Regions from separate parts of the Homo sapiens genome. Here region 2 is linked to region 1. Evidence: promoter capture Hi-C in 16 types of primary human blood cells and fetal thymus (Javierre and others, 2016). All regions are on one chromosome and are shown on one strand. Each heading gives the region's core, a stretch centred on a gene start or on the middle of the fragment in contact. The rest is flanking DNA. Distances are from core to core; before and after follow the strand shown. Region 1 holds the start of RFPL2 (ret finger protein like 2). Region 2 overlaps RTCB (RNA 2',3'-cyclic phosphate and 5'-OH ligase).

Region 1 (2,821 bases), core at 108-2,607:
AAGTTCCCCACCATGGCACTGATGTCCCAGGTAGCGCCCCCAATCCTTGCCCCTCAGCGACCAGTGCAGCCATGGATAGCGCCCTCAACAAGCCCCTCCACTGACCCCCGCCGCTGTGGGAAATGACGCCCGGGATAACGCACCCAACCCTCCCCCGCCATGAGCAATGCAACACGCACTACTGCTCCTTACACGCCCCCCACTACATGCGGTGTAGCCAACGATGGCGCCCCCATCTCCCCCTCGCCTCGGGCAGTGTAGCTCCCGATAGTGCATCCAACCCATTCCCTCTGCCCCTCTCCTCCCACCGAGTCAACCACCGCCGGCAGTCCAACCCCAAATAGCGCACCCAATCCACTCCCTGCCAGGCAGTGAAGCCCCCCGATAGCACCCAACCCGCACCCCCACCCCCGCCACTGGCAGTCCGCCCCGATAACGCCCCAACACGCTCCTGGCTGTAGGCAGTGTAGCCCATAGATAGAGCCCCCAACCAGCCCCCAGCCAAGGGCAGTGACGCCTCGGATATCACAGCCAACAAGTTCCCTGCCATGCGCACTGATGTCCCAGATAGCGCCCCCAACCCGTACCCCAGCGCGACCAGTGCAGCCACGGATAGCGCCCCCAGCAAGCCACCCCGCGGCTGCGGGAAATGACGTCCGGTAAAGCACCCAACCTTCCCGTGCTGTAGGCAGTGCAGCACCCAATACTGCCCCTAACACGCCTCCCACCACCGGGTTGTAGCCCACGATGGCGCCCTCAATCCGCCCCCGCTCCCACCTCGGGCAGTGCAGCTCCAGATCGTGCATCCAACCTGTCCCCCTCCCCGCCCCCTGCCGCAGGCAGTGAGCCCTGGATAGCTCATCCACCCCGCCACCTTTCTACATTCTGGCTGCGGTCTAGTCTCCCTCACCGCCACCAACGGCAGCGAGCCGAGCCATGCTGCTGCAGGCTTTCAAGCCTCCAGCGTGGGACAGGTGACTCCTCCTCTAACCTGGGCATGGAGCAGATGGGCTGGCAGACGCAGAAGTGCCTGGAATGGCAAGAACCCCTCCCCCCACAGACCGAGGTTATGCAAGTAAGGTTTCTGGACTACATGTTCAGATTGGATGAGAGAAAAACCTCTAGGTCTACTCTGATTGTGCTTTATTTTCACGTTCTGACTGGATGACAGCAAGTCTTAGGATAACCAATCAGAACAAGATAACAAAGCCCGATCAGAGTAGGCCTAGAGGTTTCTCTCATCCGATCAGACTATGTAGTCGAGAAACTTCATTTGCATTAAACTCAGTATATAAAGGATGCCAAGAGGGGTGGCTTGCCCTTCCAGGCTCATCTGCGTCGGCCTGCGTAGCTGCTCTGTGCCCGGCTTAGAGGAGAAGGAGGAGGAGCCACTTGCCGCGCATGCCAGAGGCTAGAGTCATCTACCGCGCATGCTGGAGGCTGGAGCCTACAGTGGCTCACCTCGCTGCTGCGGTTGGTGGCCGCGAGGGTGACTACAGCGCAGCCAGAATGGTGAAAAGGTGGCAGAATAGGTTCGTTATCCCAGGCCGTACTGCCTGTGGCGTGGGGGGCGGGTTGGGGGCCCTATCCAGGGCGTCACTGCCCGTGTTGGGGGGCTGCTTGAGTGTGGTACCTCGGGCGTCACTGCCCGCTGAGGGGAGTGGGGTGGGGGCGCTATCCGGGGGCGCTATCCAGCCTATGGCTGGAGATGGGTTGGGGCGCTATCCGAAGCTGTAATTCCTGCGGCAGTGGGGAGTTTTGGGGGCACTATCTGGGGATGCACTGCCCGCGGCCGGGGGGCGGGGGTGAGTTAGTAGAACTATCAGGTGCTGCAATGCCCTGATGCCCTTGTTGGGGACAGGTTGTGGGGGGCTGGTGGGTGCAACACTGCTGGTGGCGAGGGTGGGTGCTGCTATCCGGTGCTACTCTGCCTGTGGGGGACGGGGGCGGGCGTGATATCCAGGGCATCATTGCCTGCATCTGGGAGCTGGTTGGGGACACTATCCATGGCTGCACTGCCCACAGTGGGGAGCGGGTTGGGGGCACTATTTGGGGCTGCAATGCTGGTGGTGGGGGACGGGTTAGGGTCACTATAGGGTGCTACACTGCTGGCAGTGGGGAGGGGGTTGTTGAGGGCGCTCTCTGGGGGCTACACTGAGACAGGTAGCGGGGGGTTGTTGGGATTGGTACCGGGGCTGGACTGCCCATGGAGAGGGGGTGGGGGCGTTGGTTGGGGGCGCTATTGAGGGCCGGGTACACTGCCTGCGGTGGAGGGGTGGGTTGGGTGCTATCAGGGGTCTGTACTGCCTAGCAGGGAGCGGGTGGGTGTGCTATCTGGGGCTGCACTGGCTGCAGCAGGGGCAGGTTGGGTGCACTATAGGGGGCTACACTGCCCTTGGCAGGGGGTGGTTTAGGTGAGCTGTCTGTGGCCGCACTGCCCGAGGTGGGGAGTAAGTTTGGGTGCTATCTGTGGCTGCACTGCCTGGAGGCAGGAAGTGGGTTGAGGGTGCTATCCTGGGCTGCTTCTCCTGGTGGGGAGCAGGTAGGGGCACTATCCAGGGTTGCACTGCCCGGGGTAGGGGGCGATTTGGGTGCCATATCGGGGCATCACTGCCCACGGCAGGGGTCTGGTTGGGGTCGCTACCCATGGCTACACTGTCTACAGCCACTGCCTACGGCAGGGAGCGGGTTGGGGGCGCTATCCCGGGCTGCGCTGCCCAAGGCAGGGGGTGGGTTGCGGGTGCCATTGGTGCTGCAGTGTCCGAGGCAGGGGCGGGTTGGGGTTGCCATCTGGTGCTACACTGCCAGCTGTGGGGGAGGG
Region 2 (3,107 bases), core at 583-3,082, 190 kb after region 1:
GTACCTTCACAGTAAGTTATAAAATTCATATATGTATAAAACAAAGTAAAACTGTGTGCACATGTATATGTGGGTATCTATGTGTACCTACACTCACAGACAATTTCTGTGACTTTCCAGCAACATTCCCACCATTCCATCCTACCCACACAGCCTTGCCACCATTAGCACTAATCTCATCACACACTCACTTTATCTTCATTCCTGTCAATACAAGCTTAGGCCATCCATGCTGATTCCCGTACGGTTCTGTACATAATATCCTTTTCTATCCCATCTCCCATTCCCTTCCAGTTTCTGAAACTTTCCCACTGTGGCCTCTGGAACTCCTTCCAGAAGGAGCAAAATCCCCTCCCTCCCTTCTTCTTTGAATGTTCCCTTCACCTTCTTGTTTTACTGAAACACGGATCTTTCCCGAGGATACCACTTTCATCTCCAACTTTCTGAATGGTGACTGCTGTTTTCCCCAAATCAGGTCATGCCATTGGTCCCAGAAGTGGGACAGGTGTGCTCCTGGCTTTCATGGTTGTTTCTATTCTCCCGTTCTCCCTAGGCACTCCTAGTTTTGAATCTTGCAGTCATTACATCGTACCACAAACTACCTTTGGCTGTAGTTATCTGTGGGAGCCTGAATCACTCCCCAGTACTACTTGGCGATTTCTAGCTCCTGGCAATCAGATGAAATTCCACTGGGCCAATGACTGTCTCTCCCCTAGATGAATATTTCATACCTTTTCTCAGATCCCACTCTCACTTGCTGACCTTACTATGTAATACACTGAAAAAAATAGAAGCAGCCAGAATATTCATAAACATGCTAACTTTATCTTCCCCACATATCTGTATCTATACCTTCTCTCCTTTTATTTTTTTACTCTGTCACCCAAGGTTGAGTCCAGTGGCACAATCATAGCTCACTGAGACTACAGGCATGTGCCACTGTGCCTAATTTTTTTTATTTTTGTAGAGATGGGGTCTTGCTTTGTAGCTCAGGCTGGTCTCAAACTCCTGGCTTTAAGCGATACTCTCACCTCAGCCTCCCGAAAGTGCTGGGATTACAGGTGTGAGCCACTGTGCTCAGCTTCTTCTCTCCTTTTATAAAGGATGAATTATCTGTGCTCCTAGCAAAGACCAACCCCATCCACTTGTACATCAGACTCTATCTCCTCTCATCTATTCAAGGACACTTCTCCAGCAATTTCCTCCCTCTTTTCTGCATCATTAATTTCTCTTGTAGATTCTTCTCATCAACATGCAAACACATTTGTCAGATCACGTCACTATTCTGCTCAAAATCCTCCAAGGTTTTTTCATTTTAATCAGAGTAAAAGCAAAAGTCCAAATGCTCTGGCGCCCCCTACCTCTCTGACCTCATCTCCCTCTGGCTTGCTCTTGTCATGCCTGGCCTCCTTGCTGTTTCTTGAACACTCCTTCATAACCTCAGCTCACAGATTTTGCGCTTGCTGTTCTCTCTGCCTCGAAAGCTCACCTCCAGATGCCCAGGTAGCCTGTTTCCTCTCTCTCTTCAGGTCTTTGCTCTACTGTCACCTCACTGAAGTCTTCTCCGACCACCTGCTTAAAACTGTACCCCTTCCCACCTTTCCTTACCACCTTTCCCTGCTTTTTATTTCATAGAACTTGCATGGTCATTAACACACTGTATGTTTTATTATTTGGAAAGCTCCACAACGAAGGGACTCGTGTTTCTTTTGTTCACTGCAGTATCTCTAGCATATAGAACAGTACCTAACTATAGCGGATGGTTAGTACGTGTTAGCTGAGTAAGTGAATCAAATAATCACGTGTTGCAGGTGAAAAAACAAAACAAAACCAAAAAACCAAAAATCCAAATTTTAACTGTAATTATTTCTGGCTGATTGAATTCTAAATGTTTTCTGTTTTCTCCTTTGTATTTTCCAAATCCTTTTTTTTTTTTTGAGATGGAGTGTTGCTCTGTCGCCCAGGCTGGAGTGCAGTAGCGCGATCTCGGCTCACTGCAAGCTCCGCCTCCCGCGTTCACGCCGTTCTCCTGCCTCAGCCTCCCGAGTAGCTAGAGCTACAGGCGCCCGCCACCACGCCCGGCTAATTTTTTGTATTTTTAGTAGAGATGGGGTTTCACCGTGTTAGCCAGGATGGTCTTGATCTCCTCACCTTGTGATCCACCCGCCTCAGCCTCCCAAAATGCTGGGATTACAGGCCTGAGCCACTGCACCTGGCCAGTATATTCCAAATCTTTTAAATTAACCATGTATTCTTAAGATCAGGGGAAAAATGAATTGTTATTAAAAAAAATAAGTCTTTGTCATACTCTGACTCAGTAATTCCACTTTTTTTCCTTATTTTTTTTTAGAGATAGGGTCTTGCTTTGCACCAAGTCTGGACAATCACATAGCTTACTGTAACCTCAAGGTCCTGGGCTCAAGCAATCCTCCAGCTTCAGTCTCCTGAGTTGCTAGGACTACACCTGGCTAATCTTTGGCCAAACTAATCTTGAACTCCTGGCCTCAAGAGATCTTCCTGCATTGGCCTCCCAAAGTACTGGGATTATAGGCATGAGCCACCATGTAACTCCACTTTTGAGACTTTGTTCTAATTACTATAACAACTGGAAAAAACCTTCATGCATGAAGACACTCATTACAATTTAATTTATAGTAGCAAAAATTTGGAAGCTACTTAAATGTCCACTACAGGCAGAAAGTAAGGTACTCAGCTGGTGGAATATTCAGCAATGATTTTAAAAAGTGACACAAACAATTTTATAATAATGTGCAAAATTTTAAAAATAACTACAGAATGTTTCTTAACTATAATTAAGACTAGCTTTAAAAAAAGCATTTAGGAAAAAACTATGACAATAAGTAAATTTTTTTTTTTTTTTTTTGAGACGGAGTCTTACTTTGTCATCTAGGCTGGAGTGCAGTGGCATGATCTTGGCTCACTGCAACCTCTGCCTCCCGGATTCAAGTGATTTTCCTGTCTCGGCCTCCTGAGTAGCTGCGATTATGGGTGTCCACCACCATGCCCAGCTAATTTTTGTATTTTTAGTAGGGGTTTCACCATGTTGATCAGGCTGGTCTCAAACTCCTGACCTCATGTGATCTGCC

Evidence for each region. Contacts are between HindIII fragments. The CHiCAGO score rates a contact against its expected background, and 5 or more counts as called.
Region 2: a contact is called between a fragment that was not itself captured here and the fragment with the promoter of RFPL2 in region 1, in 1 of 17 cell types (endothelial precursors). The highest score is 5.6, in endothelial precursors.

What each region holds. Positions count from the first base shown.
Region 1 is chr22:32,203,716-32,206,536 of GRCh38, forward strand. It overlaps RFPL2 (ret finger protein like 2), which reads right to left and starts at 1,358. Exons shown (of 5, transcript NM_001394555.1): 1 at 992-1,358. It overlaps SLC5A4-AS1 (SLC5A4 antisense RNA 1), which reads left to right and starts at 1,400. Exons shown (of 4, transcript NR_149072.1): 1 at 1,400-1,532. RefSeq lists an enhancer at 2,802-2,821. The HindIII fragment of the contact is 11,730 bases long and covers 1-2,821 here.
Region 2 is chr22:32,388,530-32,391,636 of GRCh38, forward strand. All of the region lies in intron 11 of RTCB (RNA 2',3'-cyclic phosphate and 5'-OH ligase), which reads right to left. Among named protein-coding and RNA genes, the nearest start is that of RFPL3S, 19 kb to the left of the region's middle. The HindIII fragment of the contact is 3,235 bases long and covers 216-3,107 here.